Linked DNA regions of Homo sapiens: regions 1, 2, 3, 5, 6 and 7 are each linked to region 4. Evidence: promoter capture Hi-C in 16 types of primary human blood cells and fetal thymus (Javierre and others, 2016). All regions are on one chromosome and are shown on one strand. Each heading gives the region's core, a stretch centred on a gene start or on the middle of the fragment in contact. The rest is flanking DNA. Distances are from core to core; before and after follow the strand shown. Region 1 overlaps RBM11 (RNA binding motif protein 11). Region 2 holds the start of BTG3 (BTG anti-proliferation factor 3). Region 3 has its middle 18 kb from the start of HSPA13. Region 4 holds the start of USP25 (ubiquitin specific peptidase 25). Region 5 has its middle 18 kb from the start of HSPA13. Region 6 holds the start of LIPI (lipase I). Region 7 has its middle 33 kb from the start of RBM11.

Region 1 (3,749 bases), core at 559-3,058, 1.5 Mb after region 4:
TTGGTTCGAAGTTGTTAAAGTTGAGTTGTTAAAGTTGGTATCTAGATACTCCTGCCTACGCTGGAAGGAGTTACAATAATTTTTTTTCAGTTCTAACATTTTAGTTCATGTAATAATATTTCAATATAATTTTCTTAGACATATGTTATCCTTATCTCCTAAGAGACATTCCTTAATACATATTTCCTAAAATGCCAATCACAATGAAATAATTTAGGGCTAAGGTAAACTTCAGAACTAAAGGAAAGGCTGAGTGGAAGTTAATAAGTTGTTTAAAGATCTATTACTTTCTAATTACTCAGAAACATATTTTTCCCTTTGGCATGATTCCAAGTTGCAAAAATGTGAATTTTAAAAGAAAAAAATCTTGTATTTTCCAGTTTAAATTTTCAAAAACATGAATTATAGATAAAGCTACTGTATTAGTCTGTTCTTATGCTGCTATGAAGAAATGCCTGAGACTGGGTAATTTATAAAAGAAAGAGGTTTAATTGACTCACAGTTCTGCCCTGCTGGGGAGGCCTCAGGAAACTTATGATCATGGTGGAAGGCAAAGAAGAAGCAGGCACCTTCTTCACAAGGCAGCAGGATGAAGTGAATACCAGCAGGGAAATGCCAGACGCTTAAAAAACCATCAGATCTCCTGAGACTCACTCATTATCATGAGAACAGCATGGGGGAAACCATCCCCATGATCCAATTACCTCCACCTGGTCCTGCCCTTGATATGTGGGGATAATGGGGATTACAATTCAAGGTGAGATTTGGATGGGGACACAGACCCAGACCATATCATTCCGCCCTTGGACCTCCCAAATTTCACATCCTCACATTTCAGAACACAACCATGCCCTTCCAACAGTCCCCCAAAGTCTTAACTCATTCCAGCATTAACCCAAAGTCCAAGTCCAAAGTCTCATCTGAGACAAAGCAAGACCCTTTCACCTATGAGCCTGTAAAATCAAAAGCAACTTAGTTACTTCCTAGATACAATGAGGATACAGGCATTGGGTAAATATGCCCATTCCAAATGAGAGAAATTGGCCAAAATAAAGAGGCTACAGGACCCATGCAGGTCTGAAATCCAATAGGGGCAGTCATTAAACCTTAAAGTTCCAAAATGATCTGCTTTGACTCCAAGTCTCACATCCAAGTCATGCTGATGCAAGAGGTGGGCTCCCATGGCCTTGGGCAGCTCTGCCCCTGTGGCTTTTCAGGATACAGCCCCCCTCCTGGCTGCTTTCACAGGCTGGTGTTGAGTGTCTGCAGCTTTTCAGGTGCATGGTGCAAGCTGTCGGTGGACCTACCATTCTGGGGTTTGAAGGACAGTAGCCCTCTTCCATAGTTCCACTAGGCAAGGTCCCAGTGAAGACTTTTGTGGGGCTCCAACCCCACATTTCCCTTCTGCAGTGCCCTAGCAGAGATTCTCCATGAGGGCTCTGCCCCTGCAGTAAACTTCTGCCTGGACATCCAGGTGTTTCCACACATCCTCTGAAATCTAGGAGGAGGTCCCCACACCTCAATTCTTGACTTCTGTGCACCCACACGCTCAACAACACATGGAAGCTGCCAGGCCTTGGGTCTTGCAGCCTCTGAAGCAATGGCCTGAGCTGTATGTTTGTCCCTTTTAACCACAGCTGGAATGCAGGGCACCAAGTCCTGAAACTGCACAAAGCAGCAAGGCCCTGGACCTGGCCCATGAAACCATTTTTTCCTCCTAGGCCTCTGGGCCTTTGATGGGAGGGGCTGCCATAAAGACCTCTGACATCCTTGCAGACATTTTCCCATTGTCATGGTGATTAACATTTGGCTCATTACTTATGCAAATTTGTGCAGTTGACTTGAATTTCTCTTCAGAAATGGGTTTTTCTTTTCTGTCTCATCCTCAGGCTGCAAATGTTCCAAACTGTTATGCTCTGCTTCCCTTTTAAACAATTCCAAACCATATCTTTGTGAATGCATAAAACTGAATGCTTTTAAGAGCACCCAAGTCACCTCTTAGAATGCTTTACTGCTTAGAAATTTCTTCCACCAGATACTATAAGTCATCTCTCTCAAGTTCAAAATTCCACAGATCTCTATCTATAGAGGACATGGACAAAACGTCACCAGTCTCTTTGCTACAGCACAAGAAGAGTGACCTTTACTCCAGTTTCCAACAAGTTCCTCATCTCCGCCTGAGACCACCTCAGCCTGCACTTCATTGTCCATATCACTATCAGCATTGTGATCAAAGCTATGCCACAAGTCTCTATGAAGCTCCAAACCTTCCCACATCTTCCTGTCTCCTGAGCCCTCCAAGTCTCTAAGGAGTTCCAAACTTTCCCACATTTTCCTGTCTTCTTCTGAGCCTTTCAAACTGTTTCAACCTCTGCCTGTTACCCAGTTCCAAAGTCTCTTCCCCATTTTCTGGGAACCTTACAGCAGTGTCCCACTCCTGGTACCAAATAACTGTATTTGGTATGAATAAATACCTGATACTGGGTAATTAACAAAGGAAATAGGTTTAATTGACTCACAATTCTGCACTGCTGGGGAGGCCTTCAGGAAACATATAATCATGGTAGAAGGCAAAGGAGAAGCAGGCACCTTCTTCACAAGGCAGCAGGATGAAGTGAGTGCCAGCAGGGGAAATGCCAGATGCTTATGAAACCATGAGATCTCATGAGACTCACTCATTATCGCAAGAACAGCATGGGGGAAACTGCCCCCATGATCCAATTACCTCTACCTGGTCCTGCCCTTGACATGTGGGAATAATGGGGATTACAACTCAAGGTCAGATTTGGGTGGGGACACAGACCCAAACCATATCAGCTACATAAAGCAAAATTTAGTTTTTCATTTTGATTAGATAGAAATAAACTAATATTTATGTTTCAAACTTCACTATATTATATATTTGTAACCAAGATTAAAATTCAGTTACTCTCTTCATTAAAAACATATCTTTATTTTTTTAAATAATAAATATCTATAAAATGCTAGGCAACATGCAAAAGAAACATCCAAGCATGGCTTTTACTATTGAATTGAGTGGTTAATTCCCAACTGAGTTGCATGACTCTTTCAATTAGCTTTAGTAAATATATATATTCATCACTCTAGTTTGTAATGAGCTATAAACAAAAATGCCCAAATAATTTTATTTTTCTTCTAAAATAAATAAACCAAAAATAGGAAACTTGATTTAGACAATAAGTATTACATATCATACATTAATAAAATATTATTCTATTTACTTGCTCATTTTCATGATTTAAATGTTAATATAGCATCTCAAACCTTGCTAGCAAAAGAGGTGAATAATACACACTGACATAGCCAACTGATTTTAATGACATACAATTAATATGTGAGAAGAGGAAGGTATCCCTATAAATACACAATTGTATAAAAAGGGAATGATCCAAAAGTTGGTTTCATGATAATTATCTTTCCTTTGGTATCATTATCATATGTCCTCACTTTATAAAATAAACCTGAAGAAGAATATGGCTCAGAAACAACATATTTAGGTACTAAAAGAAAGGGGTACTAATGCCTGTTTATTACATCCTCATTAGGAACAATATGCAATCCTTAAATATCTGCACTACTTTCTTTCAGGAAATCCACCACTCCACATTGAATCCCAGCCTATTTGTAGTTGAGTGTTGGTTATAGGGGATAATCAAAGGGAACATGATGCTTTATCAATGTGTTCAATAAGTGACTTTTGATTAATAGTTTGGTGAAATTTCATCATT
Region 2 (3,893 bases), core at 565-3,064, 1.9 Mb before region 4:
CTGGAGTGCCATGATGTTATCATAGCTCACTGCAGCCTCAATTTCCTGGGCTCAGGTGATCCTCTCACCCCAGCCTTCAGAGTATCTGAGACTACAGCTGCATGCAACCACACCTGGCTAATTTGTGTATTTTTTGTAGAGATTGGGTTTCATGATGTTGGCCAGGTTGGTCTTGAACTCCTGGAGTCAAATGATCCTCTCTCCTTGACCTCCCAAAGTACTGGATTACAGGCATGAGCTACAGTGCCCAGCCTGAGAATTTTTTAAAAGTCATTTTGAAATTGGGTTTCAGGTTCTTGCCTGTATTTTTTGAATATGGTACTGCTCTAAGACTGGAAAATGTGGACCACAGATTTATAAATACTACACAAAATACTAATCCTAAACTATAGAAATTTCTGGACAAATTTTGAGTAATGTGGGTGGTTACCTAGCTATTTTATGAAACTGCAGAATTAAAGGCCTTTATCTGTAAAAATAACCTCATCAGATTGTTATGATTTTAAAATAAAAACACCTTCACACCTCCTAGAAGACTCCAAGGTGTAAATATCCTCTTTAAATGTACCAGTAAGTAGACTAAGTCCTAGAAGAGTATAATTTTTTTTTTTTACAAATAAAGTTTATTGTACTGTTTGGGGGATGGTATATTTATTACTGCTAAAAAAATTACCATTTTGAATTGCTAATTGGCTATAACAAAGATCAGTAATACAAATTTAAAACATTCATAAAACTGAGCTGAAAACATGCTCCCAAGCCTAGTGGGCAGTAAGGAATCTGGCCAATATACTGTACAACTTGAACATTCAGTTCTTAAGTAGTTTACAACATGGTTTAGCCCTCTTTTAATAATAATAATAAAAAGGTAGGAATATCTTGTATTCCTCCCGCTAGTTGGATGTATTAAAGTGCTTTCACAAAACTAAGACCATGGTGTTAACTCAATATAAAAGGTTGAAAAGATGTTCCTTCTTTTCTTCAGAAAGTTAATGTTCCCTCTCCATATTTGTATTTGCTCAAAGATGAAGCTTTGCATCTGGGAAGTCCTTGAGTAGAGTGTCTCAGAAATAGAAAGCCTGGACTCTCAAGGCTTCATTCCTTTGGCCAACATCTTTGGAGCCTCTCCTTTATGCAAAACACAGTGGCCGGTGCCAGGGCAGCACACAAGCGTCCACAGGAGGCAGGCCCTGCTGTGAGGGGCCAGGGAAGGGCCCAACTAGGAGTGCCAACAACCGCCTAAAATACAGCAGGGCGGCTGCACGGTTAACGTGCGTGTAATTGACTACAGCAAGAAGGATGAGGATCTGTCCATAAATGCCAAGTTCCCCTTCCCGTCGAGTCCGTGTCCCCCATGAAGCCCCGGGTCTAGAGAGCTGGGTCTAGAACTCGCCATTCCGCCCTGAGGGTGTCAAGTGCAGCGTGGAGAGACCTGAGGGGGAAACAAAAAGGCCGAGACAGCCGAAAGGACCAAGCCCGCGCGACCCCCGAAGGCGCTGACGCACGTAGGGCGGCCGGGCGGGGGTCCCACAGGCCTTCAGCGCCGCTTTTTGCCGGGGAGGGAAGCCCGCGGTTCTGCGGACCGCGCCGTCGCGGTCGAGGGTCTGCGCCAGGCTCAGGGTAGGGCGAGGGTGTGTCGCCTCCCGTGCGGCTAGGCCCGGGGCTCGGGGGTGGCCTCGCGGCGAAGCCCCGCCCCCGGCACCGCCCCTCAGGCGCGCGAGCCGATCCCGCGCGCGCCAACCCTTTCCCGGGTCATCGCCCCTCCCCTCTTCCGGGCCGCGAGCCCCCTGCGCGCCGCTTTGGGGCTGCGCTCACTCGTGTGCGCGCTCGTCCGCCCGCCAGTCCTCTCAACGCGCGCTTGGCCGCCCGACGACGCGGGAGCCGCACGCGCCGGACGAGGCTCGCTGCGCTCCCTGTTGCCCAGCGCGGGCCCGTTGAGGCGGAGCCCTCAGTTCCCGGCCAGGACACGGTCTGGGCCGCCGAATCTCCGGCCGAAGAGCGGCGGCGGCAGCGGCGGTGAGGAGACCGGGCCGGGGAAAGGCAGACATGGCGGGGCTGTGGGTATCGGGGGAGGGTGGTCCCGTCGCCCCTGCGGCCACGTCGAAGGCTCGCTGGCGGGCGGCGCACCGGGGACAGGGGAGGGGCAGGGGATGGAACCAGGTTGCATGGGCTCCGGCTCGGCGCCAGAGCGGGGCTGCGGGCCGCGAGGGCGGCCCGCGAGGCTTTCCGCGGGACCCTCGGCGGGCGCCTGAGGAAAAAGACGCCGCCTCAGGGCTCCTGCCACGTTTCCCACAGCGCGTTACATTCCGCCTCCGGGTGGGCGACAACCCCGCGGCTTCCCACCCTCTGTCCACCCCCTTCGCGTCGGTGTTTTTTCTGGAGCTCCGCTTGTTTGCTGGAGAGTCGCGCCTCCGGGAAGCCGGGTCCTCGAACCCAGGGCCGCCCGCCGGGGACAGCGGACCCGCGGGGCAGGCGCACCCTGGCGAGGATGTTGTCGGGGAGGCTGGGCATTGGGCGCCAGGGCCCTTCCCCTTGAACTTGGGGAAAACCGGGATTGCAGAAGTTGGGCGCAGCTCAAGGCGGTTCTTTCAAGAGCGGGTGGAGATGTTTGATCCCTCCTCACCTACCTCTCTCAAAACCCCAGCGGGAGAGCCTAGCAGCAGGTTTCGATGGCTTCAGAAAGTCCAACTCTTAGCCCCTTGGAAAATTATTTCCCCTCTTCATGGCTTTGTGGCGCCGCTGAGGTCGGGCCGGGGCTCCTCACCCCACGGGCCAGTCTTCTCGCGCCCTCCACCTTGGGAACGTCTATCAGGAGAAAAATGTGTTCCTAGAAACGTTTGCGATTAGCTTTTCGTTACAAGGGAGGGAAAAGTACAAAAGTTATAAACTCCTGCGAGGCCGAGCTTGATTCTGGATTCCCTTTGGGTTTTATCCACGCAGCCGTGAGCAGAGGAGCCTTGTGGAACAAAGTAGAACTTGAGGAGCAGCCGCCGCGGTGACGAGGTCCCAGGATGACGTCACCGTGCGATATTTAAAATGGGAGCCTTTTGCTCTGAGTGTGGGTGGAGGACGCCTACTTACTCAAGACGCCTGAGGTCTTCTTGGCCCTGCTTGCCTCTGGTGGTTCTTGCCCTGACTGTAACTCTCCCTCTTTCACCTTTTGGTACTCCTAGAATACTGGTGGGAGTGGGCTTATTTTTCAGCTGTTCGAGCTATCATTTCTTCAAACGGGGAAAACAAAAGTCCAAATGAGTCATCTTGTGTTACAACCAAAAGCAACCACTAAGTGGTTCTTTCCTTCTTTTCTATTTTTTTATATGAAGCAGAGCAAACAGAAACAAATCCAGAACTCAGATATGTGGCACATAGTTGGCAAATGTAATGAATGAGGAGAAAGATCTAGTTAAAAGATTCAGTACATTTCTTTAGTGTGGTTCCTTGTTTGCTTTGCTGGAGTGGAGGCTAATGTAGTTCCATCAGCAAAACTTTCTTCCCAACCCGTATATTAAATTGCCTTGGGTTTTCTTTTCCATCGTATCGTGGTGGAATATAAACGTAGCTTTACAAAGTGGAAATGGCTTACATTTTTCAGGAGGAGGCTGCACAGCAGTCGTGGTGGGCTGGGGTTATGTATACGTGTACACTCGTGTGTGGACCCATGCCCGGTGCCTGCTAGCTGGCTGTAGAAGGTGAATTTCTCATTCTAGGGTTCTGGGAGGAAGATTTGTGTGCCTTCCCCTCCATCAGGCTATCTGCGGCTGCCAGCACACCTCTCAGATAACTGTGTAGAATTTATTTCACAGTGAGGTTCCTTGTTTGAATTTGCACTTGGAATAAAGGAGTCATATTCTGAAGAGAGACTGAAAGAGCAGTTTGAGAAAAGAAAGCTAACA
Region 3 (3,607 bases), core at 1,083-3,582, 1.4 Mb after region 4:
TAGCTGGGTGTGGTGGCACACAGATGAGGCAGGAGAATCACTTGAACCCAGGAGGCAGAGGTTGCAGTGAGCCGAGATTGCATCACTGCACTCCAGCCTGGGCAACAAAGCAAGACTCTGTCTGAAAAAAAAAAAAAAAAGAGTGTGTCCTGGCATGGTGGCTCATGCCTGTAATCCCAGAACTTTGGGAGGCCTAGGTGGGCAGATTACCTGAGGTCAGGAGTTCAAGACTAGCTTGGCCAACAGGGTAAAACCCTGTCTTTACTAAAAATACAAATATTAGCCAGGCATGGTGCCACATGCCTGTAATCCCAGCTACTAGGGAGGCTGAGGCAAGAGAATTGCTTGAGCCCAGGAGACAGAGGTTACATTGAGCCGAGATCATGCCACTGCACTCCAGTCTGGCCGGCAGAGCAAGACTCTGTCTCAAAAAAAAAAAAAGTGTGTCCTATGATGTGATTTTGTAAATATGAGACTACGGTTATAAGGAACAATGAGTGTTGGTGTTTAAATAATAGCCAATATGTTATTCAATGTTTTTTATATGCTAGACACTGTCTTAAGTGATTACATGTATTCCATGATTTAATTTCCAAAGCATACTTAGGAGGTAAATAAAATTATGACTCCCAAATAAACACAGAGAAATATGTTAACTTACTCAAGTTTATACAACTATTAAGTGGTTGAGTTGGGATTTCACATAGGTATCCTGTCTTGAGATCCTGAACTCTTATTTACTATGTTTTTGCATTCTAGCTTTTAAATTTTCTTTTAAAAGAAAGTCCCTTTAGATCAGGTAGAACTATTCACTATTTATATGCATATTAAAATGCAACATTAAGTTTTCTAAACCCTTCTGTATCAAGGCTATGTTTAGAAGTAAATGAAATTGCCATTACTCAGCCATTTTTTGACCTACAGAAATGACTATTTTATATGGTCCAACCTAATGCTATATTTAAAGAGGCATGGATCCCACCCCCACCACAAGCTTTGATTTTATTTAATATGCTTACAAAGATACTGGTTTAAAATCCTGTTTTTTAAAAGATTTTGGAAGTTTTTCGAACTACAGACTATTTTTTAGTGTTTCCTCTGGAATGAGACATCTTGGTAGAGAAGTAGAAAGAGCATCATCAGCTATGTAGTCACGTAAACCTAGATTCCAGCTCCTCTTGGAATCTTAATATCATATTTGGTAAAATAGAGCAGATAATTCCTTTCTTATATTATTTAGTGAGAATTGAAAGTGACACATGTTCCAAATATATTGCACATTACCTGGCACATTGTGGGCTTTCAATAATGAACATTCTCATTATCCTCAAAGAAAGCAACTTAATGTTACATAGGATTTTTCTCTATCAGCTATGGTAAATATTTTGTCTATTGAAATTTATCATTATTTTATGAATCTATTTTGAAGTTATAATCTTTAAACAAATCATACAATCATGGAATAATCTTTTTTATTACAAACGTGCTACCTCTCTGTAATCCAATCATTTTGAGTGCTTTGTACTTTGCTTCTAGTGTACATCAATAATTGATCAAGCTTTATGTACATAATTGAAATAAGAATAAAATATTAATTTCTTAAAACAATAAAATTATCTTTGAATAACTTTGATTTAGTCACTTTTTGTGTTTTTTACTTTTGCTTTTCTTTTACTCTGTATTACATATGAAGATAATGTATATCTGTATATATATGCAGAAAACTACCCGTATTCTAAATATGCAGATTGATGAACATTCACAAACTGAATGAGTGCTCAGATTCACTTCAAGAAACAAAATGCTACCATTAATCCAGAAGTCTACCTTGTGTACCTTATTATAACCCTCCCCACCAAGGATAACCAGTATCCCAACTTCTAATAGTATAAATTAATTTTTCTTTTAAAAAAATTATATAATTAGAATCATGGAGTCATATAGCAATATTCTTTTGTGGCTATTTCACTCAACATTCTTTGTGAGATTCATCAAATTGCCTAATGTACACAGTAGCTGTTGTACCTTCATTCTATTAGCTAGATAGTATTCTATTATGTGAATATACCACAATTTATCCAGGTTACTGTTGATTTCCCATTAGATTTTAAAATTATTCAGCTTCTCTGATTTACTAAAATTATAGGAGTAGGGAGCTAAAACATCTTTTAACTCATATGAATGAAATATTTTGATTCCTTTCTTAATAGAATTCAACAGCTATTTATTCAATGTTTACAAAGCACTTCAGGGATTGTAAAGACAGGACAACACTTCAAGTAGCTTACATCCTTAAGGGAGGAGACTTTAGATAATACAAGTTTTCTAGTTTAAGGCAACTTTTCATAAATACCCTTAGGAAATAGAGCAAGGTTGTACAGGGCTGCATACAGAGGAAGAAAGGAGGACAAAAGAAATGGTTGATGGGCTTTAAAGAACATGTTAAACTATTTTATTAATATCTTCTTGAAAGAAAATCCTATTGAAGTTTAAAGACTTTAAATTTGAAGGGCAATTCAGAGACATAATGTTGCTTCCTTTAAATAAAGCTACTAAAGAAAAAGCCCTTCAAAATCTGATTAGGACTACAAATCAACAATCCTCTCATAAATGTAATAAAATATCTCACTGAGGTATATATATTAACCAAAAAATAATGTTCCAAAGAAAATATTAGGTTTTTTCTTCACTCAAAGGTAAATAGTAAAAATATAAAACATTATAAACAATTATAAAATTCTGTTAATATATAATTACTCTTTCCAAAAAGCAGCTGACTAGCTTATTTTTTTCTGTGATTTCTTCATCATTTCATAAATTACACAATAGCTCAAAATATATTTGTAAAACTTATTTGTTTTCATTTTTTTTGAAAGATGGGGTGTCTGTCACCCAAGCTGGAGTGCTATCGTGTATCATACCTCACTGCAAACTTGAACTCCTGGGCTCAAGCAATATTCCCACCTCAGCCTCCTGAGTAGCTGGGATTACAGGTATGCACTATCATGCCCATCTCATTTTTTTCATTATATTTACTTACTTTTTGTAGAGACAGGATCTTGCTTTGTTGCCCACGCTGGTCTCAAGTTCCTGGCTTCAAGCTTTACTTTCACCTCGGCCTCCCTAAATGCTGGGATTATGAGTGTGTGCCACAGTGCCCAGCCCACATCCATTTATATATAAATAAGTACTTATAGTACTCTAAAATGTCTAGCTATTCATTCTGCAAACATTTGCTCGGCATCAGTTATGTGAAAGGAACTATGCTAGGAACATAACATACAAGGATGATTAAAACTGGGCACTTGCCTTCAAGGGGAAAGCAGACTTTAAAATGGAGTATGAGCCCTGCCATGATAAAGGTATGCACATGGGGCTAATGAAAGCACAGAAAAGGGGCGTCTAGATCACACTGGAGGGCAGAGGGGAAGATCGGGGGACACATTGAGAAGGGAACTCCCAAGAGAAGTCAGGGACTTAAAGGACAAGTGGCATTTGGCATTTTGGCCAATGTGAACAAGGTAAGCACGAACGGAAGAGGGAAATCTAGGTACAGCCCAGGATGGTTACAAACTGTGGTGATGGCCGGGGGCCGTGGCTCACACCT
Region 4 (3,333 bases), core at 475-2,974:
TCCTTCTAACTTTACCAATAATATCAACTAACATACAAGTCTCAAAAACAACTTTCCCAACGTGCCTAAAATAACAATGCACTATCCTTGCTTTCCAAACTTGAGTATCTTCGATTACTTTAAAGCAGTATCATAAAATTCTAAAAATAATCTCAAAGCAAAAATTTAGCAGGCTGTATGTAGACAGCCCATTTTAGAACAGGTCTTATTCTAAAGTCAAGCACAGGTAGAATATTGCAATCTACACCAAATCTACAACAGGGTGGGGCATTCATTACTCACCCAGATAAACCAAACATAACTCTGGTGGTTGATCACAGTAAACCCTAACTGTCCCCGTAATACCAACACAACTAAGGCACGGTTTACTCTTTTGCCCAAAATGCTTTTCACGCAAATTAAAAATTAAAAAAAGAAGTTAAATCATGGCCAACTACTCTTCAGAACATGGTGCAAGCCATGATAGTGCACTTAAGATTCTGAAAGCAAAATCTAAAATAGCAGAATGATCTCTATTCACTTTAAAGATATAAAGTTTCACAAACAGTTTTTTAATTGTTTTCTTTAGTGAGTGACCATTTGAATGTGTGACTGATGCAAGAGTAAAGGGTGAACGAAAGAACAAGGTCAAACTTAGGGGACAAAAGATTCCTGGAATAACATGGCCAGAAAGGTTTCCTCTCTTAGGGACAGTTTCTATATTGAAAAAAAAAAAAAAAAAAAAAAAAACAGAAAAGAAGAAGAAGAAAGGGAAACCTTAAAAGGAAAAGAAACCAAGCAAACCACCTACTTCTAGAGTCCACCTGGTCAACACGCCTGCCCCGCGAGGCAGGTAATTCGATTTTGGTGGAGACCGTTTTGCAAAATAGCAGGCCTGGTACACTACTACCTTTGAAAGACAAAATCGGTTCAGAAAGGATGACAACTAGCTATTCTTTCTCATTTAAGGGGAGAGAATAAAGTTTCATTAAGATGCCACACAGAGCACTGTAGGAATGTGAGGGTCGCTCTCAATACCTGGCACCGTCTGCTACGGGAAAACAATCGGCAGAAGGAAGTGGATTGAAGCCCGCAAACTACACTCTGCTTCCCACACGCAGCTGGGCTCTGGGCGCGACGCCCCCGAGGCGATGGGCAGGGGCCGGGGGTGACCGGGGAGGAAGCCCGGGAAGGCGGCGGCGGCGAGGCCGGGGCGCCCGGCCGCAGCGGGAGAGGACAGCCCGTCGGAAGGAGAAGTGGGGCCCGCCGGCTGGCGGACTCGCCTCACCTTCTGCGCCGCGCTCTGCTGCAGCACGTTCTGCTCCACGGTCATGGCCCCCGCGGCGGCGGCGGCGGCGGCGGCGGTGGCGCCCGGCTCCTCGCGCCTCCGCCGGCCCTGGCTGCCGCGCTCCGCCGAGCTCCAGGGAGCGGCGCGGACGGCCTGGGAGGACAGCGCCCCCGCCAGCCAGGCGCGAAGGCGATGGCGGCCGGCGTGCGCGGGCACCGCGGGCAGGCGGCGAAACGCCGACTGTGAGGGCCACGGCGGCCGCCTCACGTCTCCACGCGGCCCGCCTCAGCGCCGCTCGTCCGCGGCGGCCCGGGCCATGAGCGGGCGGAGGACGCCGGGGCACGGGAGAGCGCGAGCCAGTCGGGCGGCGTCACGCGTTCGCACGTTCCTTTGCTGCCGGTCCGCGGGCTGCTTTGGGGAAGGGAGAGAGGGGACGGAGGGAGCGGCCGCCCGGAATGGCGTTGTCCTCCTCCCTCCGCGAGTCCTCCTCCCTCCCCTCCCCCACGCGCCATCCCCGCCCCCGCCCGGCGGCTCCTCCCCCGCAGAGCCCCGCCCGCCGGCCGCCCTAACCCTACATTGTGACCCTCCGGGCGGCGGGGCGGGGCCGCCATGGAGCCCCGCCCCTCCCTGCGCGGGCCTGGCGTTCCCGGGTGGGGCGAGGGCGCGCCTGGCTGCCTGGCCCGGGAGCCGCCCCTGCGGCAGGTTGCGCGACGCTGGCGCTGGGCTTCGGGGAGCGCGACTGGAGGCCGGAGGGCAGCGTTCCTCCCTGCGCCCAGGGCTTGTCGGATCCCTAGCTTACCCAAAGCCTCCAAAGCAAACATTTCCCTCCATGCCCATAACGTCCCAAAACTGCGTAGGGTCCCGAACTCCGGCCCCTTTCTGTGTCACGCGTTCTCTCCCCTCGCCTTTCTAGGAATTTCACAAGCCTTGAACTTGCCTGAAGGGAAAAGTCAAATAAGCAAAGGGTTGCCAGAAATCTTTATGCTGGGAAGTACTTTTCTCCTTAACTAATCATTACGTAAATGAATATAGACATTTTCTATCTACCTTCATTCATTCGAATATGTGTCAGTCACTGCTAGGCTCTGGAAAAATAAAGTTTATCTTCCCAAGACTTAATATAAATGAAATAGGATCTATCTAGCAAACAACCTTACAAAAATATCACTGCCTAATGATACATAATTCTAATATCCCAGTTGCCAAATTAAGCAAACAATTAACTACCATGCATGGAATGCTTGACTATATATGGAATTGTAAGGAAAATCTAACATTAAGAAAGCAATCTCTAGCCACAAAAATATCTCGAGTTCCAGGAGCTAATCTGGGAACGGAGGTGAGAGTGCAGCAGTGTGAGGAGAGAAATTATCAATGCATATTGTCACAAATAGAATACACTTGAAAATCCGGGTATAATTTTTAATCCAATGACAAGGAAAGCAAGCTTGGCAAATGCTAATTGAAATAGTATGTGGTGTTATTTAATAATCATGGATTATAGTAGCTCTTAAGGCTTTGTAACAGTTCTGTGCACTTTACAACCATCTTTGTTCTGCAGCTCAGATGTCTGGTACCACCTGTTGTCACCTTTTCCTTGAAGCTTCATATTTGTTGACTCATTTGATATTTAACAAATTGCAAATCTTATTATATTAATATCCTATGTCTTTTCTAGAGGAAATGAAAAGTCATGAAACGGTTGGAAACAGAAATTTAGAAATACTGTCACATCTCTAATCTCACGTATCGATTTTTTTATAACTCTGAAGCCCAAGGAGGGTGACCTGTCAAAGAGAGCTTATCAAAACCCATTTTTCTTCATTTATAGATCAAAGTTTCTTCTTTTCTTGTTTATATGCTAACTTCATGTTTCTCCATATGAGGGTTTTGGTTTTTTGGTTTGTTTGTTTGTTTTTTAGAAATCAAGCTCATACATTTGAATTCAAGAAAATTAAATTTAACATAAAAATCTAGTAATCTAGTACCATGGGAGGAAAAATGTTGCCAGATACTAAGGTTTAATTTCAAGAATTTGGCAATACAACTTTTCTCTGAGTTAAATT
Region 5 (3,543 bases), core at 1,028-3,527, 1.3 Mb after region 4:
TACATAACATGAAGACCCAAAGTCATGTAAAAGTTTCTACATGACAGTTGGGATATCTAGAAACTAGTTAGGGAAATGTTCATGGTGGAAATTAGTACTGAAAGGGCATGTGAATCCCAGGCTGGACCTGAGTACATGGAAATCTCAGCGAAAGTTATTTCAGGAAAAGGGAAGAACACAAGCAATAGGAAAGAAGCAAAGCCTGGTGACAACTGGTTTCTGGGAAGAGAATATATCTCACTAAAGGCAGAGATTGGACTGAGGGAATAGCAAAAAATATTTCGCTAAAAAGAACGGGATCAGTGTAGGGAAATTCTTGAAAGCCTGGCAGAAGAGTTTAGATTTGATGCATCAGGACATTAAAAAGATGAGTTTTTATAAATTCAAAGAGAGAGATTTGATAAATCCACTATTTAAAAAAGATTAGTTTGGCAGCAGCCTTTAGCGTAAGTGGTCTAATATGGATTGGCTCCACTTGGGTAACTTTGCTAATAATATTCGGATTCAAACTTCAGCTACAAGGAAAATGGTTCATATATAATTTCATACATGCAATATGATAATTAAATTATATACTTGGTGTCTACGCCAACAATAAATGAGAAAGAAAGCTAAGCAATACATTTAATTTCTATGGATAACCAACAAAGTAATGAGACCCCATACCTACCCATCTACCTCTTTTGCTCCACTCCCTGATCAAAGGAAAAATATTGCTCAAGGCAAATGAATGGTTATTGTCTCTTTTTATTATCTAATCCTGCTTAGGAAAAGGTGAAGAATTTGTCCTGAATTACACAAGAATCTAAAGTAGACACTAATAATGATAAGAGTTATAATGATAACTATGCTACTATTAATGAGTGCCTATTAGTTGCTAAGCATAAAAAAGGTTTTCTCTTATGTCATTCTTGCAACAGCCCTGCAAAGAAGGGATTGTGATCCCAATTTTTGTAGCTGAGTTGCCTGAGGCTCACAAGACCTGGAGAATGTTCTCTCAGATTGTGTATTGGCATGTGAAGGCAGGTCTGTCTGGCTCCAAAGATTCTGCTTTTTGCATGATCCCACCTGGCCTATCTGGTGAGGACACCTGTCCCTGTTTCATTCTTAAGAAGCTAAATGTCAACATTGAAGGCCACTTCAAACTACATCCAAACGATTGCATGCCAAAATGTTAGTGGACTACTATGGTGAAAATGATAAGTATTGATAGAAAGATCTTGCTAGAAATTCAAATGGCAGAGTTTCAATTAATAATTTCAAAATTCATTCTCAGTATCCTAGAGTCATTATGAAGCCTGACATTGAATAATAGTTAACAACATGATAATCCTCCTGCTAGGTTTTTGTTTTATATTTGTTTGTTTTAATTACTTCTTTGTTTGAAGGATATAATTCAAGCTACTCTACATTCTGGCCTACTTTTTAAATGCTCTTGACATAAATAACTGACATAGAGATTTTACTAGGCTGCCTCTCTCATTTTGGCATGGCTTTTCACTACTATTGATTAGTATATCCTTATCTGGAAAACAAATCATCTCTGGTTTATAGCTTCTAAATAAGAGAGAAAGAAAGTTAAGGGCTGTTCACTATTTAGCTGTAAAGTTCTTTCCAGTTCTGCAATAATGTACAGTAGAGAGGAAATGACAGAAGTTAAGGTGTTCAGTCACTTTCACCTACCCTAACTCACAAGTAAAAATTGTCATTTCTGAGGTCAACAGTTAATTCAAAATATGATATTTTTGGCTCAGAGTTTTAAGTTTACAACATAAGAAATCTGGAGAACTTCTAGAATTGTATATTACATATGCAAAGCTCCCTCTCACTAGGGAAAAAAAAAGAGCTTCCATGAAACATTGTTTTTATTGCATGCTGGGCTACTGAGAATTTCAGGCAAACCTGTAAGGGACAAAAAATAAAATAAGTTTGCTAAAACTCAAAAAGAAAAAACAAAAGAATCTCCAAGAGACAGTGATGCCTTTGGAGCAAATGCCAAGATCATCACTCCAAATCCTGGGCCAGTAATGAAACAGCGAAGATAAACTCGAAAATCACAGATGTAGCCAGGGGCCTACGACAGGCTTAATATAAAGCCAGGTTGGTTGCTCAGAATCAAGTTGAATCATCTTAAAAATTTTTTTCTAAAACTGACATAAATAATAAAAGGAAGAAAAATAGTCAACACACTCATGAAGAAGAGAGAAAAAGTGAAGATCTTTGTCCTGATTAACAGCATAAACTATTATAAAAATATAATAATTAAAACAGTATTAGATCAATTGGCCAGTAAAACAAAATAGAGAGCTCAAAAACAGACTTGTGAGTATTAAAATTTAATATGTGATAGAGATAGCCATGCAAAACATTGCAGAAATTAGACTATTCACTAATAGTGTTGGCTCATAGTTATAAATATGGGGGAAAAATAGGATCCTTACAGCACACTACATGCACAAATCAGTTCCAGGTTGATTAAAGGCCCAAATATGAAAGTTAAAAAAGATAAAATAGAAGAATGTATTAATGACTCAGGGTAGGTTAGGAGATTTTAAATGATACAAAAGGTACTAATCATAAAATTGACCACATTATATAATTAAAAACTTATGTCATTTAAAGATATTACAAAGATATTTAAAAATAAGCCATAGAGACATTTGCAACATGTATAACTTGTAAAACATTAGTAACCAAAATATATAAAGAATTCCTAAAATTGGAAAGAAAAAAATTAGAAAAATGAGAAAATTTACATGAACAAGCATTTATAGAAAATAAAAAATGGAGAGTAAACTTATGAAAAATTATTTAATTTCATTAACAATTAGAAAAATGCAAATAAATATCACAAACAGATGTCATTTTACTTTCATCAGACTAGAAAATATTGACCAGCATGATAAATGCTAAGTGTTGGCAAGTATGTAGCTCAATTAAAAGTCTATGTGGCTATTGTGAATAGTGCCAATATAAAACATGGGGGTGCAGGTATTCTTTTGATGACTGATTTCCTGTCTGCTGGATAAGTACCCACTAGTGGAATTGCTGGAGCATACAATAGTTCTTTTTTTAGTTTTTTGAGAATCTTTCATACTGTTTTCCATAATGGTTATACTAATTTATATTTCCACCAACAGTGTATAAAAGTTCCACCTTCTCCTCATCTTCACCAGCACTTGTCATTTTTTGTCTTTCTAATAACGGCCATTTTACCAGAGGTGAGATGATATCTCATTGTCTTTTATTTGCATTTCCCTGATGATTAGTGATGTTGAGTATTTTTTCATATACCTGTTGTCATTTGTATGTCTTCTTTTAAGAAATGTCTATTAAGATCCTTTGCCCACTTTTTGATGGGATTATTTGTTTTTTTGTCATTGAGCTGTTTGAGTTACTTACATATTCTGGATATTAGTACATTGTTCAATGAATAATTTGCAAATAGTTTCCCAATTGTACAGGATGAATGGAATACTATTCAGCCATAAAAAATAAAATCCTATTTGCAGCAACATCAATGGAACTGGAGGTCGTTATGTT
Region 6 (3,373 bases), core at 540-3,039, 1.5 Mb after region 4:
GGTGAGATGAATGTCTTTGCTCATATATTTGTGCACATGTAGGCCATTTGCCACATAAAAGGACCTTGGATGTGTCTGTAGGAAAGTGTCTTGGATTTCTGTAGGAAGTATCTTTGTTGCTTAATTGCTGAGTCAAAGGGTAAGATTGTTAAACATTTTGACACATTGACAAATTAATAAAAGGTTGTGACAAAATATATTGTGATAAACAATGATTTTCCATCTCAAACACTAATTAACTCACTTGTAAAGTGCTTGAAGAACGCCTGATACATAGGGCTCAATAAATTTTAAATCTTCATCATCATCATCACATCATCATCATGAACATCCCCTTTGAGTTAATGTTTACATTGTAAGTGTGTATGTAAGCTACTTACAATCATTTTTTATATCCAAGGAGGACTAAACAAGTGCTCAAATAGATTGTCTTACTAAACTATTGGCATTTTGTAACTTTGTCATCCCCCAATATTTTCCTATTTAATGCAATGAACATTAATAACCTCATCTTTCTCATATTGGCAGTAGGCAAAATACATGATAATGAAGAAGCATGATTTTTAATTTTGAAACTCTATATTATACTGCCTGATATGCCAGTATTTTTCAGTATGAACTCATAAAGATGAAAGTAAATGTGCAAGAGTCATATTATAATGCCACATTGAAAGCACAAAGAGAAAAGGAAATTATAAGTGAAGGAGGAAAGATTTGTATTTTAATTTATTAAGTAAAATTTGTTAGGAAAAATTTGTTCTAGGATGTATGACACATTATCTTTCTTCCCATATTCTGAAATGATGTGGCTTATTTATATCTTTGTTAGAGAGGTGCAGTTCTTACAGCTAAGTGCTGTGGAAGGACCTAGATTATTTTTGGTCTTCAAACAAATTGTAGTGGTGGTATTTTTTAAAAAATGGAAATCTCATGTAAAACACCCAGAGATCAGACAGTTCAAAATAATGATGGAACTTCCTCAGCAGTTAAATGTTTGTGATTTTTTTAAACTAATACTTCATTTTGTTTGTGAATTTTCTCAAATACTTCCCCAGACCTCAGATTAGTTTCTGCAGATTTATAACATACAAAAAACACTTCTGTTCTTACTGTATTTTTGGAACTTTAGAGAAACTTGAATTTTTTAAAAATGAATTAATTTTTAAACTTTCAATTTATGTACTTAGAACAACTCCCAATTTTTCTTGCTTACTAAAGTCCATTGCTAAGAAAAGAAGATAATTAAGTAAACATGTAAAAAGAAAATGTATGCTAATTTTAAAATGGTCATCATATTAAATACTTTTTTTTTTATAATTTTCACCTTTTAGCCTCAAGTGATGAGCCAAAATTTTGAATGTTAAAATAGCCCCTGCTTTGGGGATGTAAAATAACATAAATATGAAAAGCTCATCTTTTATACTTGAAAGAGCTTAATGGATATGGCTTTCATTATTGATTTATGGTATATAAAGATATCTTAGTTTGTAGTCAAAGTGAATATAAACCACAACTTTTTCTGACTCTTTCCATTTCTAGCATTTTCTAACATCACATTTGCATATTTTCCTGACCGCTTCTGAAATCCTGAGGTTAAAAGGAATACAGAAAGATGTAATTAGATTTATCATTCCCTTAAATTCAACTTGTGTAGCTGAAGGTTTGTTTGTGACTTATTACAGAGCCTGTGACTTAAAAATCCTTCCCACAACCACAAGCTAAAGTGGGAGAAAACAAACTACCTCACCTTTTCAACCAAGAGGGAGGAGCAAAAATCAGTGAACTTTTACAGAAGAACCTGCCAGCCTGTGATGATCCTACCAAAGAGAAACCTCAATGAGTTACGGAATTTCCTTTTTGGTGAATTGAGTGCTGTTTTTGCTTTTCTCAGATTCCAAATGAGAGTATACATTTTTCTTTGTTTGATGTGCTGGGTGAGATCTGGTAAGATATTAATTAATAATTTGATTTATCTTTAAAAATTGCATATAAAATAGTGTGGTCTGTATTCTGGGATAAAGAATGTTATGATATAATGGGATAAAAATATGTTAGATTATTGGTACTAATTATAACAAACATTACTATTAAGAAAACTTCTGTGTGTGTACGTGTGTGTGTGCATGTGTTTGTTTAATAAGTTGACATTTTGCATTTTATTTCCTTGCCAGATAATTAGTAACTAGAAAACCTTTTTTTAAAAAAAGATGTAACTAGAGAATAAATAGAAATACTCAAGAGAAAAAAATTCAGTAATGGAGAAATTAATTTGGTATTTAAAATTATGCCTTAAATATCTTGTTTCAATTTTATTTGTTTAACTAGCTCTACTTTTGAAGAAAATTCTTACTTGGATAAATTATCGATTGCAAAACAAACAAAATAACCAGATACTACAACTTTTGCTCTCATTCAGTATGACGAAAAACAAAGCTGGTTTATGGTAATAAGGTAGAACTTTATTCTGGTTTATTGGCGTACAGTAATAAAGTTTATCAATATTAAGAGTATCGTTTTCTACTTTATGAGAAAGTAGAATTACTTGTTCGACTTATAAGTAGAACAATTAGTTCTACTTTATGGTAATAACAGTGGCAAATTTAAAATTCAAGATGATAGTTTTCTGTAGGGGTTTTATGAGAGCAGATTATTTCCTTTATGTTTTAAATTTATTTGAAATTTGTTAATGCATACTTGAATAACTTTAAAATTAACTAGAAATTACCATTATTTCTTATGTTTTCAATTGGCTATTTGAGATAACCATAAATTCTGGAAATGTTTGAATTTTATATTTAAATATAGAAACTAAATGATACTGATATGTAGTTTATAATTTATATTATTACTCTTAAGTTTCTTGATAGGGATTTTATGTTATTATAATGTAAAATAGTGGCACCTTCAGTTGAAAGCCAGAGAAATTTGAAGTCTAGGCCCCTAATCTTATGTGTCATTTTTAATACAGTTATAATCATTTTAATATCATAGTTTACATTAAAAACTTATTTGACAGACTTTCTGATATTATTGTTTTGATTAGTATTTATTTAGTCAGTTGCCTAAATTTTCAGTTGGGAAAATTCAAACATAATTGCTTTGTATGTTTCTGTCTGCTAATTCTTGTGTAATGATGATTAAAATACAATAGTAGAACTTTTAGATATTAACAGTAGTAAATAGAAAATAAGTGAATTACAAATTTTACTGATCCTCAAATTCATTTTTAACCCATGTAGACTCTATGCATTCTCTCATTTTCCTTGAATCTCTACTTGATTAAAAAATTTTGTTGATTTCCAGTAGTTTATTTCATACAAGTGTGTTTTATTTATTACACATGCTCCTTTCTTCTCCACTAGAGATTCTGATA
Region 7 (3,552 bases), core at 216-2,715, 1.5 Mb after region 4:
GCCTGTAATCTCAGCTACTCAGGAGGCTGAGGCAGGAGAATCGCTTGAACCCAGGAGGCAGAGGTTGCAGTGAGCCAAGATTGCACCACTCCGGCCTGGGTAACAGAGGAGATTGTCTCAAAAAAAAAAAAAAAAAGCTATGGTGACAGATTAGTTTACTTTCAGGATATTAGGCTGCCATTAAGTCATCAGCACTGATGTGATTTTTATGAAATGTTTATTTTTTATGTTTAAATGAATTGTCCTAGCATGTCTTTATATGATTTTCCTAGTTAAAAAAATGAAAATTACAGAAAATATCAGTACTTTAAATTTACTTTTGAGATCATTGGAAACCAAAATCAGTCTTTGTATGGTATTTTTACCCCACCTGCTTGGTTTGATTTTTGTCTATTTTATATCTCATGAATAAAAGTGTTATTTAATAACTTCTTGTCATTTTAAGAACATGACTGTAATTAATTTGCTTCACTCAGCTTCTAAGATAACCACTAGTAGAAACAGAAGAAAATAAAACTCACAACAGCCATGGTAGTATCTTGCCTGGGTCTGGGAGAATTTTCTGGAGACTGCCTGGCTGATGGAAGTAAGTGGCCAATGAGTTCAGCTGTGGGAAACAGCAAGCCATCTATAGGGGAACCTGCCCCCAATATTTCAACATAGGTTCTTTCTATTTCCCCTAAGTGTCAGCTGGCCTGAGAAATAAAGAGAAACAGTACAGAGAGAGGAATTTTACAGCTGGGCCACCAGGGGTGACATCACACATTGGTAGGTCTGTGATGGCCACCTGAGCCGCAACACCAGCAAGTTTTTATTAGGGATTCCAAAAGGGGAGGGAGTGTACGAACAGGGAGTAGGTCACAAAGATCACATGCTTCAAAGGGCAAAAGGCAGAGCAAAGATCACATGCTTCCGAGGAAATAGGGCAAGGACAAAATCAGGAACTCCTGATAAGGGTCCAGCAAAGATCACAAGGCAAAGGGTAAAAACAAGATCACAAAGCAAAGGGCAAAATTAGAATTACTGATGAGGGTCTATGTTCAGCTGTGAATGTATTGTCTTGATAAACATCATAACAACAGAAAACAGGGTTCAAGAGCAGAGAAGTGGTCTGACCTCAAATTTACCAGGGCGGGATTTTTTTTCCCCACCCTAATAACCCTGAGGGTACTGCAGGAGACCAGGGCATATCTCAGTCCTTATCTCAACCACATAGGACAGACAGTCCCAGAGCAGCCGTTTATAGACCTTCCACAAGGAATGCAATTATTTTCTTAGGGTCTTAATATTTAATATTCCTTGCTAGGAGAAGAATTTAGCGATATCTCTCTTACTTTCACGTCTGTTTATAGGCTCTCTGCAAGAAGAAAAATATGGCTCTTTTTACCTGACCCGGCAGGCAGTCAGACCTTATGGTTATCTTCCCTTGTTCCCTAAAATCACTGTTATTCTGTTCTTTTTCAAGGTGCACTGATTTTATATTGTTCAGACACACATGTTTTACAATCAGATTTCATATTGTTCAAACACACATGTTTTACAATCAGTTTGTACAATTTGTGAGTTTTATTTTATTCTGTTTATACTAGTGGTTATCTTAGAAGCTGAGTGAAGCAAATTAATTACAGTCATGTTCTTAAAATGGCAAGAAGTTATTAAATAACACTTTTGTTCATGAGATATAAAATAAACAAAAATCAAACCAAGCAGGTGGGGGAAAAATACCATACAAAGACTGATTTTGTTTTCAAATTATCCCAAAAGTAAACAAGCAATCATCACAGGGTCCTGAGGTGACCTGTTACGAAGATAACAGGATTAAGAGATTAAAGTAAGAGGCGTAAGAAATTATAAGAGTATTATTAGAGAAATGATAAACGTCCATGAAATCTTCACAATTTATGTTTCCTCTGCCACAGCTCCAGCCCGTCCCCCTGTTTGGGGTCCCTGACTTCCCACAACAGCCATCCTTTCTTGATTCTCTGCGACTTTCTTCCTGTTTCTAAATGCAAATATCTTTATTGAATAGTAACCTTGACAGCCATTGATCTACTGCCTCGATGCTACTTTGTCATGTCAACATCTAAATTTTAAGTGAACTTTTTCTACATTACATTAGAGACCAAAATTCCTATCATACAAATGGGATGGAACCAAGGGCCATCTGAAAGTAAACTGGTGGTGGCAGATTACTATTTTCTGCAAGATGTAATGTCTACAACAAGCATGAGAAACAGGGAGGGGGTCAGGAAGACCTTCTCTCATGGTGCACACTGGGGATTTTACAGATCCATGTGCATTATCTGGTAGGAATGTTAAAAAGCCAGAGGTGAACATAGAAAGAGCTCATTTAATTTCTGCAGAACCCAAACAGATAAAAGCCTTCATAGCAATGAAAGAGCATATGAACTCAGCCCATGGTCCACCCATAGCCCTCTGATTCCAGGTAAGAATAAGATTTGTACCCCAGTTGAAACTCAATGGACATAAACTCATTCCTCACTTCATGTAATTGGGTTAACACTGCAGCTGGGAGAGTTCTCCTCATTTAGGAATGAGTGTACTTATAAAAGAGGGAATATTAAAATGTATTATACAGCAACAGAGAACAAATCATGATATTTCGGAGAAGAGGCAAATTCCAAAAATACTTACTTTAAGAAATGTAGTAATGAGCATGTTTATTATTCTCTTCAGGACACAAGATGCTTCAACATTAATTAAATATGAGAAGAAGACTACAAAGAAAGAACAGGTTGGTATGAAAGTGAATAAGATGTAATTTAAAAAGAGATGGATGAGAAAAAGAGTGTTCTTGTATATCCCATAAGTGGAAAAAAAGGCCAATTTAGAAGAATGAAGTGTATTTCAGGTAAAATCAATGAGAAGAATGTCACATTTTAAATATTCTATAAATAAGATGGCAATAGTATTGATAGGGTTTGGGTCTGTGTCCCTATCCAAATCTCAGGTTGAATTGTAATCCCCACTGTTGGAGGTGGGGCCTGGCGGGAGGTGATTGGATCATGAGCGTGTGATTTCTTCTTAATGGTTTAGCACCACCGTCCCTTGGTATTCTATAGTGAGTTCTCAGGAGATCTAGTTGTTGAAAAGTGTGTAGAGCCTCCCCACTCTCTCTCTCTTCCTCCTGCTCCTGCCATGTGACGCTCCTGCTTCACCTTCTGCCATGATTGTAAGTTTCCTAAGGCCTCCCCAGAAGCTGAGCAGATGCCAGCATCCTGCTTTCTCTACAGCCTTTGGAACCATTAACCAATTAAACCTCTTTTCTTTATAAATTACTCAGTTTTGGATACTTATTTATAGCAGTGCGAGGACAAACTAATACAAGTATTGAGAAAAATTCTAAAATTATGAAGGTAGAATAATTAATTTGATACAAAGAATAAAAGAATATTCATACTGGCTTCAGACTTCATCTTTGGGACATTTTTTCTTATATATCCATTGATAGTTTTTTTTTCTTTTGTGAATCACTGGTTAATATTACTTGCTATTTTCAAAACTGAAAGCTTTTAGTTACATAACTGACTC

Evidence for each region. Contacts are between HindIII fragments. The CHiCAGO score rates a contact against its expected background, and 5 or more counts as called.
Region 1: a fragment that was not itself captured here is called in contact with the fragment with the promoter of USP25 in region 4 in 1 of 17 cell types (naive B cells); the score reaches 5.1 in naive B cells.
Region 2: a contact is called between the fragment with the promoter of BTG3 here and the fragment with the promoter of USP25 in region 4, in 1 of 17 cell types (non-activated CD4 T cells). The highest score is 7.5, in non-activated CD4 T cells.
Region 3: a contact is called between a fragment that was not itself captured here and the fragment with the promoter of USP25 in region 4, in 1 of 17 cell types (monocytes). The highest score is 7.0, in monocytes.
Region 5: a contact is called between a fragment that was not itself captured here and the fragment with the promoter of USP25 in region 4, in 2 of 17 cell types (M2 macrophages and total B cells). The highest score is 6.1, in M2 macrophages.
Region 6: a contact is called between the fragment with the promoter of LIPI here and the fragment with the promoter of USP25 in region 4, in 6 of 17 cell types (activated CD4 T cells, naive CD4 T cells, total B cells and 3 more). The highest score is 9.7, in activated CD4 T cells.
Region 7: a contact is called between a fragment that was not itself captured here and the fragment with the promoter of USP25 in region 4, in 1 of 17 cell types (M0 macrophages). The highest score is 5.9, in M0 macrophages.

Annotation. Positions count from the first base shown.
Region 1 is chr21:14,227,557-14,231,305 of GRCh38, reverse strand. RBM11 (RNA binding motif protein 11) reads right to left here. Exons shown (of 5, transcript NM_144770.5): 5 at 2,934-3,749. Among named protein-coding and RNA genes, the nearest start is that of RBM11, 13 kb to the right of the region's middle. The HindIII fragment of the contact is 4,077 bases long and covers 1-3,749 here.
Region 2 is chr21:17,610,822-17,614,714 of GRCh38, reverse strand. It overlaps BTG3 (BTG anti-proliferation factor 3), which reads left to right and starts at 1,814. Exons shown (of 5, transcript NM_006806.5): 1 at 1,814-2,016. It overlaps BTG3-AS1 (BTG3 antisense RNA 1), which reads right to left and starts at 3,029. Exons shown (of 1, transcript NR_149073.1): 1 at 601-3,029. It also overlaps a transcript of CXADR not described here. The HindIII fragment of the contact is 7,083 bases long and covers 1,034-3,893 here.
Region 3 is chr21:14,363,219-14,366,825 of GRCh38, reverse strand. No RefSeq gene overlaps it. Among named protein-coding and RNA genes, the nearest start is that of HSPA13, 18 kb to the left of the region's middle. The HindIII fragment of the contact is 1,543 bases long and covers 1,561-3,103 here.
Region 4 is chr21:15,728,373-15,731,705 of GRCh38, reverse strand. It overlaps USP25 (ubiquitin specific peptidase 25), which reads right to left and starts at 1,724. Exons shown (of 26, transcript NM_001283041.3): 1 at 1,268-1,724. The coding sequence starts at 1,312. RefSeq lists a silencer at 1,160-2,119. The HindIII fragment of the contact is 4,884 bases long and covers 1-2,716 here.
Region 5 is chr21:14,398,947-14,402,489 of GRCh38, reverse strand. No RefSeq gene overlaps it. Among named protein-coding and RNA genes, the nearest start is that of HSPA13, 18 kb to the right of the region's middle. The HindIII fragment of the contact is 7,464 bases long and covers 1-3,543 here.
Region 6 is chr21:14,209,371-14,212,743 of GRCh38, reverse strand. LIPI (lipase I) reads left to right here and starts at 1,789. Exons shown (of 10, transcript NM_001302998.2): 1 at 1,789-1,944. The coding sequence starts at 1,899. The HindIII fragment of the contact is 13,443 bases long and covers 1-3,373 here.
Region 7 is chr21:14,247,381-14,250,932 of GRCh38, reverse strand. No RefSeq gene overlaps it. Among named protein-coding and RNA genes, the nearest start is that of RBM11, 33 kb to the right of the region's middle. The HindIII fragment of the contact is 4,134 bases long and covers 1-3,532 here.